Regions from separate parts of the Homo sapiens genome. Here regions 1 and 2 are each linked to region 3. Evidence: promoter capture Hi-C in human tissues and cell types (Jung and others, 2019). All regions are on one chromosome and are shown on one strand. Each heading gives the region's core, a stretch centred on a gene start or on the middle of the fragment in contact. The rest is flanking DNA. Distances are from core to core; before and after follow the strand shown. Region 1 holds the start of FTCD (formimidoyltransferase cyclodeaminase). Region 2 overlaps PCBP3 (poly(rC) binding protein 3). Region 3 holds the start of COL6A1 (collagen type VI alpha 1 chain).

Region 1 (3,340 bases), core at 555-3,054, 170 kb before region 3:
ACATGGTGAAACCCCATCTCTACTAAAAATACAAAAAATTAGCTGGGTGTGGTAGCGGGTGCCTGTAGTCCCAGCTACTCTGGAGGCTGAGGCAGGAGAATGGCGTGAACCCGGGAGGCAGAGCTTGCAGTGAGCCAAGATCGCACCACTGCACTCCAGCCTGGGCGACAGAGCGAGACCCTGTCTCAAAAAAAAAAAAAAAAAAAAAAAAGAACTTCAAGTGGGGCTGGGCTCAGTGGCTCACACTTGTAATTCCAGCACTTTGGGAGGCCGAGGCAGGAGGATCGCTTGAGCCCAGGAGTTTGAGACCAGCCTGGGCAACGTGGTGAGACCTCATGTGTATTTGTCTGATAAAGACATACGCAAGACTGGGTAATTTTTAAAGAAAAAGCAGTTTAATGGACTCAACAGTTCCACAATCATGGTGGAAGGTGAAAGAGGAGCAAAGTCACGTCTTACAAGAGGGTGTGTGCAGGGGAACTGCCCTTTATAAAACCATCGGATCTCGTGAGACCATTCACTATCACAAAAACAGCACCGGAAAAAGCCGCCCCCGTGATTCAGTGACCTCCCACCGGGTCCCTCCCATGACGTGGGAACTATGGGCTCTACAATTCAAGATGAGATTTAGGTGGGGACACAGCCAAACCATATCACCATGTCTACCAAAAATGGAAAAGTTAGCCAGTGTAGTGGTGTGTGCCTGTGGCCCAGATGCTCAGGAGGCTAAGGTGAAAGGACCTCTTGAGCCTGGGGACCAAGGCTGCAGGAAGCCATGATTGTGCCGCTGCACTCCAGCCTGGCTGACAGAGTGAGACTTTGTCTCAAAAAAAAAAAAAAGAGAAAATGATAAAAGCACTGCAAGTGGGCAGCGGCTGAACGTGGAGACAGGAGTTCTCCCTTCTGAGCACGGCCCTGGTGCCGCTGACTTCGTGGGGAGCCTGTAGTCAGGGGAGCAGCAGCTGGGGAGAGCTGGGGTCTCAGCTGCCTTCCCCCATATCGCACATGCCCGTCTCGTGTGTATCTGCACTCTCACACGCGTGTTCCCCTGCCCTGCGCTCACATGTATCTGCACTCACTCTCACATGCTTGCTTCCCCTGCCCCATGCTCACGTGTACCTGCACTCTCACACGTGTGCTCCCCTACCCCACACTCACATGTATCCTCGCTCACTCTCACACGTGTTCCCCTGTCCTGTGCTCACATGTATCCACGCTCTCACACATGTGCTCCCCTGCCTTGTGCTCACGTGTATCTGCACTCTCACGTGTTCCCCTGCCCTGCCCTCACGTGTATCCTCACTCACTCTCACACGCGTGCTCCCCTGCACTCTCCTGTCTGAGCTGAGCTGACCTCAGTTGGGTGCTGCGAGCCAGGGCCTCATGCTGGCCTCTCGCCCTCCACAGCCCCAGGGGTCCAGGCTCCTCCAGGAACAAACGCAGGCCCCACGGGCTGCCTGGAAGGCCTCCCAGAAGGCAGCACAGGGTCACGAGGGTCACCCGCAGTGGCACAGGGAGGCCTCGTCACGACAGGATTCCAGCCAGGCTGGCCTGATGCTCCTGGGGGTCCTCGGCACATGCCCCTTCACCCTGGCATGTGCTTCTTTTCCGGGAACCCACACTCTGGCTGAGTGGAGCCATCCCCTCTGGGTCAACAGCACCCGGGGTGGCTCTGCAGCACCCCACTCCGCGGCTGCACAGGGACCTTGGCCCCACTGCTCCTTGTGCCTTGCTGGTTAATGAGAAGCCGGTGGGGAGGTGCTGCCGGTGAGCGTATAAAGGCCCTGGCGGCGGCTGCGGAGCACTGGCCCTGTCCTTCCATCTGCCCAGAGAGGAGCATCTGGATCAAGGTGCTGGCCATGTCCCAGCTGGTGGAATGCGTCCCCAACTTTTCGGAGGGGAAGAACCAGGAGGTGAGGCCCGAGGAGCTGGTCAAGCATCTAGGGCTGATGGGGCAGCTTGAGTGGCTAAGGCCCAGGCCATGGAGGAGGTGGTGGGCTTGGTGTCCCGGGTCGTCTTCCCAGGATGGGCAGAGCCGCTGCCCGTGGGCCCCAAGGACATCCCGTGGCTCAGGGCCCTGGGGAGTGCCTGACCCAGGGGTGGGTGGAACACGACTGGTGCTTGTGGGGGCTGAGGCTTGGCTGTGGCTTCAGGGGCCTTTCGGGTGCTTTCGGTGGGGGGTTGGGCAGATCTCTGGGCCTCAAAGGGCCTTGGTGCTCCCCCCTGAAAATGGGGCTCCTGCCACTGACTGAAAGGGCTGTGTGAGGCCACACGAGGTGGCCCAGCATGGTCCCCACTGCCGCCTCTCCATCTCCACTGGAGTTAGCTTGCTGAGCCCCCACCCTGCAGCCACCATCCTCACTGGACCCAAAACGAAGTAGGCACAGAGGGGGCAGCAGGCCCCCAGGTCCGGCCTCTCGCCTTCCACAGCCCTGAGGTCCAGGCTCCTCCGGGAACAAACGCAGGCCCTAAGGGCCACCTGGAAGGCCTCCCAGAGCGCAGCACCAGGCCACAGGGGTCACCCGCAGGGGTGCAGGGAGGCCTCGTCATGCCGGGATTCCAGCCAGCACCAAGGCCCTGGGACAGGGCAAGATTTGGGGCTGAGCCCCTGCTCCCAGCAGTCCTGCCACCCGGAAGGTTCTAGGCCCTTCAGGCCCCTCCCCCATGCTGGTGATCTGTCCCTCCCCTGCTCGGGGGTGGGGGTCCCGGCCCCTCTGTGACCTGCGCCTGTGGTCACCTTCTTGGATCCCCGGCCACGTCTCTGGCATCTGTCTGTCGGAGCAGAGCCCGTGAGTCTCTCCTGGAGGCACCACCTGCAGCCCCTTGTGGGGACTGTGCTTGGGCTGGAGTGACTGTGGCTGCTGTGAGGGTTCCCGGGCGGCCGCTGTGTGCGGGCACTTTCGGTGGGAGCTCAGCTTGTCGGAGAGCCCCCAAAGGCTTGGCCCGCCTCCTCAGCCCCCATTTGTGTCTCGGGGTGCAGCCACCTCCAAGCTCCTTTTCCTTCTTTCAAACGGGGAGACTGAGGTGTGGGGGCCGGGCCTGTGTCCCAGGTGATCGACGCCATCTCTGGAGCCATCACACAGACCCCGGGCTGCGTGCTGCTGGATGTGGACGCAGGCCCTTCCACCAACCGCACCGTGTACACCTTCGTGGGGCCGCCGGAGTGCGTGGTGGAGGGGGCCCTCAACGCTGCCCGGGTAGCTTCCCGACTTATCGACATGAGCAGGCACCAAGGTGAGGTCTCTGGGCTCTCCTGTGGCTGCCGTGTCTCAGAATGTCAGGGCCGAGCCCTGTCCTGGTGTCCTGGGAGAGGGGGTAGGCCCGGGGCCCAGGCTTGGAA
Region 2 (3,491 bases), core at 555-3,054, 140 kb after region 3:
AGGCAAGGAGACAGAGGAGATGAAGGAGGCATGGGATCCCCTTCCTCACCTCTGGCCTGCTCTGGCTGTGAGACCCCGGGAGTAACAGCAGAGCAATGGCTTTAACATCTTGCTGAACATGCTGAACTGGCTGCCACAACAGATCAGCTTCAAAGGCAAGGACCCCAAGGGTGTCACATTCCCTCCTGGGCACAGTCCAGACAAAAGCAGTGCACTCAGCTGCAAACTACACACATGCATACACATGGCAAAGGCACACACTCACATACATGTGCAAACGGGTGCTTAAGCAGCTCACACACATGCATGCACATGGCAAAGGCACACACTCACACATGTGCACACGGGTGCTTAAGCAGTTCACACACATGCATACACACGGCAAAGGCACACACTCACACGTGTGCACACGGGTGCTTAAGCAGCTCACACACATGCATACACACAGCAAAGGCACACACTCACAAACGTGTACACGCGGGTGCTTAAGCAGCTCACACACACACATACACAGGTGAAGGCACACACTCACACGTGTGGACACAGGTGCTTAAGCAGCTCACATGCATACACATGGCAAAGGCACACACTTACACACATGTGCACACGGGTGCTTAAGCAGCTCACAGCATTAGCCAGGCTCTTAAGAAATGGTTTCAGCTTCACCAGAAGGTTTCAAACCTCAGACAATCACAAGGCAGCATGCTGTCTCTCTGTAACATTCTCCTCATGCCTCTCAGCATCAGGGAAACCGCTTCAGACAGGAAACCATGACTTGGTAAGAGATCATCTGGTGGCAGGTGCCCCTTGCTAACCAAGGCTGGTTAAGATGAACAAAAGGCATAAGAGAGCAGAACTGTCAGTGACCCCTCCGGAGGTGGACTCCTTGAGAATCCAGGTATGGTCCTTTTAGGGAGAACAGTTTAGAAGATATTCAAGCTGATACCTTAAATCTCTGGGGTACCCAGTAAAAAAGTCTAAGAATTCATAAAAGGAAGCTTCTGATGAATGCAAAATTTTGTTCAACCTTAAATAAAGCATATATATATGTAAACTATATATATAAATAAAGCATATATATAAACTTTATATACGTATATAAACTTCATATACGTATATAAAGTTATAACTTTATATACGTATATGAAGTTTATATATAACTTTATATATATGTATATAAACTCAGACCCAGTCTTCTTCTTATGAATCTGCCTGGAGAGGAAGAAAGAAGAACCATGGTTTCATATGTACCAGAGTTTGGACCCTAACGTTGCCACTTTTGTGGGCTAACACCCAGAACTATCTCCATTCTGTCACATCTAAGATGAGGAAGCCACGCTGCCCTTGTGGTGCGCGTGGAACCATGCCGCGGGGAGCACCATTGGCAGGGAGCACCAACACACAGTGCTCACAGAGGAGCGGGGAGACCAGCCTGCCTACCATCTCCATTACTTCTGCCACACAAAATCCTCCAGCCACGCTGAATTCTACCCTGGCAGGTGTCCTGCGGCTGCAACAATGCTGGAGGGAGGGTGGAGAATGTGACCCCAGGGCTCCCTCACCTTGCGCTGGGTGACATCTGGACCATGTGAAGGGCTCTGGAGGGCAGGGCAGCACCACCCACCCCTGCCACCCAATCATAAGAGTCCTTAGGTGCTGGGGCACCTCCCACCCAACGTGTCTATGCTCCATGCAGCAGTGTGCAAGACCTCCCTAAAGTGGGGCTCTCACCAAGACGGCAAAGCATTTCCTAATGCAGTGGGTCAATCGTCCGGCTCAAAGGGCAGCCTTGGAGCTGGACAGACCAGCCCAATGAAAAACAAGCACGGCCTTGTCCGCAACCAGACTGCTGGAGCTGGGGCCTGCAATTTTGGGTAGAAACACTGAGAAGAAAGACTGAAAGAAGGTCAAGGAGAGAGACGAGCATTAATGGAGGAAGAATGCTACAAGAAGGAGCAGTGAGGTCAGAGGTCACAGGCCCCAAATCGCCCAACTGGTGGGAGATGCCAACATACCTCTCTCCTTTACAGTTCACACAAGTATACCCCACAAAAGTAATAAAGATGCAGAATATATTAACAGCACAAACAACATGATAGTGCGTATGTGTGTCTGTGTGTATATAAAACCCTGTACCTGACAAGCAGAGGTAACACATTCTCCTAAGGCTCTCAGAGAACAAAACAAAAATTGATAACGTTTTAGTTCATATTGCAGGTTTCAACAAATGTTGAAAACATGGAGTCCACAGAACATATCTCCTACTCAGTAGGCAATTAAATATCATTAGCAAAAGATAACTTTACAATTCCCTTGGACAAAACACTTTTTAAATGTTTCCAGATAAGAAATAGATGAGATCAGAAAACAGACCTCAACAATAATAAAATTATTGCATGCCAAAATTTGTAGCAAACAGCTGCAACAGAACTCACAGTAAAGTTTATAGCTTTTAAAAGGAGTAAAGAAACACAAAATTAGTGAGTCACGAATCCCATTTAAAAAGTTAGAAAAAGAACAGAAAGTATCCACAGAAAGTGGAAAGGTAATAATAAAGAAAAGTTCAGAAGTTAAGCAAAGAAACAAAGGCAACTGAGAAGATCAGTAAATATAAAATTTGGTTCTTAAAGTCTAAATAATATACAACCCTCTGATGAGATTAATCAAGAAAAACAACTGCGAAGGCACAGGGGATAGTAGTCACGTAAAGGAAGCCATGCCTTCTGGTTCTGGACAGGATGGAATAGACACCTCTCTCCCTATTCTTCCTGCTGAGCACAGCCAACAACTCTGGACATTACATGTGGAACAAACAGAAGAGAACCCTGAAAGCTGGAGGGAAGAAGGGGGACTGGCTGGGCCCTTGGGATTTGGAGAATGACACAGCGGTGAGTTCGCTATTCTTTGGGTTTCTTATTTGTTTGTTCGTTTTGTTTGTGCTTCCTCCTCTATATTTCAGACAGGGCACTGGAAAAGCAACTGAAAAATGCCAAAGGATACACACTGGAAAAAAACAGTCTCAAGAAAATTCTCTCTAGGGAAAGGGATGGGAAAGGAGGAACCTATTAGGTCAGAAAGCATCTGAGAATACCTGCCCTGCTCCATGCACAGGACAGGACGCACACAGCACCCTGCCCGGTCAGAGGGGCTGAGCTGAGAGCCTCGGCTTCCACTCCCACCCAGCAGTACCAAGCACCCTTCTCCCCACCGGTGGTGTCCCCAGGATCCAGGGAGGAGCCTGGATCTCCACCCTAGCTTGCTGGTAACAAGACATCCCTTCCCCATGGTGTCAACAGAGGCCGAAACAGAAGATTGATGTAAGATTCAGACTATCATAACATAATAACCTATACTTCCAGGACACAAACAAAAATTATGTGTCGTGCCAAACATTAGGCATACCTCAACATGAAAGAGAAAAGAAAATCAACAGAGGCCAACACTGAGATAACAGAGATGCTAGAATTCCCTTACCAGGATTTTAAAGCAGC
Region 3 (3,294 bases), core at 348-2,847:
CTCCCCTCTCCCCCCGGTCTGTCCTCAGCCACACGCACAGATGGAGGAACGTGGAGCAGAGGGTGCCGTGTCCCAAGCCCAGAACCAAGCCTGGGGGCCCTGGGGCTGCAGAGCGACACCCCTCCTGGCTCCCGAGTCGGGGACCTTCAGAACGTGGGATCCAGGACCCAGGTAGAGGCTCTCACTGCCCACGGAACAAACCAGGGTCCAGGTGGTTAGTGAGGGGCTCCCGCGCACCAGGCAGGACTGCGTGTCTGGGCCAGTGCGCTGAGCCCTCTCGGTCAGCCTGCGGGAGCCTCTCTTCCCTACATCTCAGCCTCACTGTCACCTCGGCCCTGCTGAACAGGTGCCACCCCCGCGAGCAGGGTCTCAAACCAGCTCACTCTGGAAGGCGCTGGGAGAGGCTCAGACCAGCTCACTCTGGAGGGCGCCGGAAAGGGCCCCGGCCTCACTCTGGAGGGCGCCGGGAGGGGCCCCGGTCAGGGCAACGCTCGCCCAACCTTAGGAGGTTGAGGCCGTCGCACCCGTGTTCCCCTGGGCCCCCACCCCTCCCTCCAAGAGGCCCAGAAGCACAGGAGGAAGGTCACGGGGCGTCCCTCCTACCTGTCCCTCAGGTTGTCGATGAAGCGCTTGGTGAAGGACTTGACTTTGTCCACGAGGGCCCCGTAGGGCTTCAGCCTCAGGGCCACGCTCTCAGAGGTGTCCAGCACAAAGAACAGGTCCACGGGGCAGTCTGGCCGAAGATGGAGGAGAGGGGCCTTCAAGCTCTCGCCCCATTCCCCGAGTCTCTGCTGGGCCTGCCCTCCCGGCCAGCCCAGCGCCTGCAGCACAGAGCCCCGGGCCCGGAGAGGCTCTCCCGGGAAAAGGCAGCAGGACGTCCCTCGGTGGGGACGGTGGGGAGGGGGTGGAGTGAGAGACCCCAAACCGCTCCTGTGCCTCGAGGGGAGTCAGAAACCTTCACAACCTCCCCCGAAGGGCAGGGCGTCCCCGGCACGGGACCGGACAAGTGAGACCTCACGGGAAGGTTTCTCGCTGGATTCAGAACCAGCAGCGCACGACTTCTTCTAGAACGGGGGTCGGGGGGGCCGTGCGTCTGGACTCACTGCCAGGTGAGGGGTCAAACGGATTCACGGGGCGCCGAGACAGCCCCGCACCAGCTCCCCCTCGCCAGGGAGCCCCTCCCGAGCTGCCTGCGGTCCGGCCCCGCTGAGAATGCTGAATGCTGAGCCTCTAGGGGCCCCGGCCAAGGCCCGGTGGGGCAGAGCTGGGCGCTGCAGCCGCCCCGAGCGGGGAGTGGGGTTCAGGGGCTCCAGGCCCCCAGTCTGCAGTTCCACGCGTGGGAGGGGACCCCGCGCATCTGGCCCTGGCCGGCAGCAAAGAGCGGGGGGTCTGGAGCCTGCACCCCAAGCCACCACTCACCCTGGAAGGCCACGGCCCTCGGGGTCTCCGGCTCATCCTGCGCGGCTGTCCAGCAGGCCTGCAGCAGCAGGGGCAGCAGAGCACGGGCCGCCCTCATGTCTGGGGCCTGCGGTCACCACACAGCGCGGCCAGGGCAGAGTGGGCCGCCGCCGCCGCCCAGAGACCGAGGCTGCCTTCTGCTCCCAGCCAGAGTGAGAGCGGAGGGCAAGGAGGGGAGGGGCGGGGCGAGAGGGGCGGGAGGGGAGGGGAGGGGCGGGAGGGGAGGGGAGGGGCGGGGCGGGAGGAGAGGGGAGGGGAGGGGAGGGGCGGGAGGAGAGGGGAGGGGCGGGAGGGGAGGGGCGGGGCGGGAGGGGAGGGGCGGGGCGGGGCGGGGAGGAGCGGCCCATGAGTCACCACCTCCTTGCTGGGGTCTCTCCCTCCAGAACCGGCAGCAGCTCCGAGCCCAGGGAGAAGGCGGTTTCCCTGGCTGGCTCGCCGCGGCCTGCAGTTCAGTTCCCGTGTCAGGGAGGAGGAAACTGCAGCAGCTGAATCAAACGTCTGAAAACCAGCGTGTCACCCAGGGAGAGTTCCTTGAAACATCTTTCGGTAGTTTCCAATCCAGACGTCTCCATGCGGGACGCACGGGCAGGCTCACTCGCCTCTTCCCACCAACCGCCTCCTGCAGAGGACCTCGCCGTGAGCTGAATTGTTGCTTTATCAGATCTCCGCGTTCTTTTTTCACGTCAATATTTCTTCACAGTATAGTCGGATACGTATTTGCCAAAGATATTTCAGTTTGTACCGTGGGAAGACAAAGTTGCTCACAATATAGTTGTTATATATGCTGTGTGTGGAGACAGAGAGACAGAGACAGAGAGACAGAGAGAGACAGTGAGAGAGAGACAGAGAGACAGAGACAGAGAGACAGACAGAGACACAGACAGAGGAGAGACAGAGACAGAGAGAGAGACAGAGACAGAGAGAGACAGAGAGACAGAAAGACAGAGAGAGACACAGAGAGACAGAGGAGAGACAGAGACAGAGAGACAGAGACAGAGAGACACAGAGAGACAGAGAGACAGAGAGACAGAGACAGAGAGAGAGACAGTGAGAGACAGAGACAGAGAGACACAGAGACAGAGAGACAGAGAGAGACAGAGACAGTGAGAGAGAGACAGAAAGACAGAGACAGAGAGACAGACACAGAGAGACAGAGGAGAGACAGAGACAGACAGAGAGAGACAGAGACAGAGAGAGACAGAGAGACAGACAGAGAGAGACAGAGAGAGAGACAGAGACAGAGACACAGAGAGAGGAGAGACAGAGAGAGACAAAGACAGAGACAGAGAGACAGAGACAGAGAGAGACAGAGAGGAGAGACAGACAGAGACGGAGAGACAGAGACAGAGAGACAGAGACAGAGAGACAGAAAGAGAGACAGAGAGAGGAGAGAGGGGCTGTCCCTGATATCACCTGGGGGTGGGCTCCAGATGTGGCCAGATGCATCCCTGGCCCACAGAAGGTCCCAGAAGAGCTTTCCCAAAGCTGGAGCTGCTGAGACTTGCCTAACACCAGCCTAAATGTCTTATAATTTTAAAACGTACACAAATTGTTCATACCAAAAACCATGTTAAAGAAACATTTGAAAAAACCTTTAAAATTGATACTTAATTCCACAACTCCACAGTGACTGTTTTTGGATTGCCTTCAATATTTTCCCCACACCTACGTTACAGAAGTTGTAAAGTACTTCTCCTTCTTTTCCTCCTCCTCCTCCTCCTCCTCCTCCTTATTATTATTATTATTATCTAAGGGGCTCACTCTGTCATCCAGGCTGGAACGTAGTGGCCTCATCACAGCTCACTGCAGCCTCAGTCTCCTGGGTTCAGGTGATCC

What was found. Contacts are between HindIII fragments. The study calls those that stand out against the background at their distance.
Region 1: the fragment with the promoter of FTCD here is called in contact with the fragment with the promoter of COL6A1 in region 3 in 3 of the 25 tissues and cell types used here (IMR-90 fibroblasts, mesenchymal stem cells and mesendoderm cells).
Region 2: a contact is called between a fragment that was not itself captured here and the fragment with the promoter of COL6A1 in region 3, in 4 of the 25 tissues and cell types used here (H1 embryonic stem cells, IMR-90 fibroblasts, dorsolateral prefrontal cortex and 1 more).

The regions. Positions count from the first base shown.
Region 1 is chr21:46,154,043-46,157,382 of GRCh38, reverse strand. FTCD (formimidoyltransferase cyclodeaminase) reads left to right here and starts at 1,804. Exons shown (of 14, transcript NM_206965.2): 1 at 1,804-1,913; 2 at 3,051-3,234. The coding sequence starts at 1,860. RefSeq lists enhancers at 2,031-2,734, 2,735-3,340. The HindIII fragment of the contact is 26,017 bases long and covers 1-3,340 here.
Region 2 is chr21:45,842,490-45,845,980 of GRCh38, reverse strand. The region is part of intron 4 of PCBP3 (poly(rC) binding protein 3); the gene reads right to left. Among named protein-coding and RNA genes, the nearest start is that of PCBP3-AS1, 7.8 kb to the right of the region's middle. The HindIII fragment of the contact is 8,875 bases long and covers 1-3,491 here.
Region 3 is chr21:45,980,073-45,983,366 of GRCh38, reverse strand. COL6A1 (collagen type VI alpha 1 chain) reads right to left here and starts at 1,597. Exons shown (of 35, transcript NM_001848.3): 1 at 1,420-1,597; 2 at 604-733. The coding sequence starts at 1,516. It overlaps LOC105372841 (a long non-coding RNA gene), which reads right to left. Exons shown (of 3, transcript XR_937803.3): 3 at 1,801-2,077. RefSeq lists enhancers at 116-976, 977-1,839. The HindIII fragment of the contact is 42,283 bases long and covers 1-3,294 here.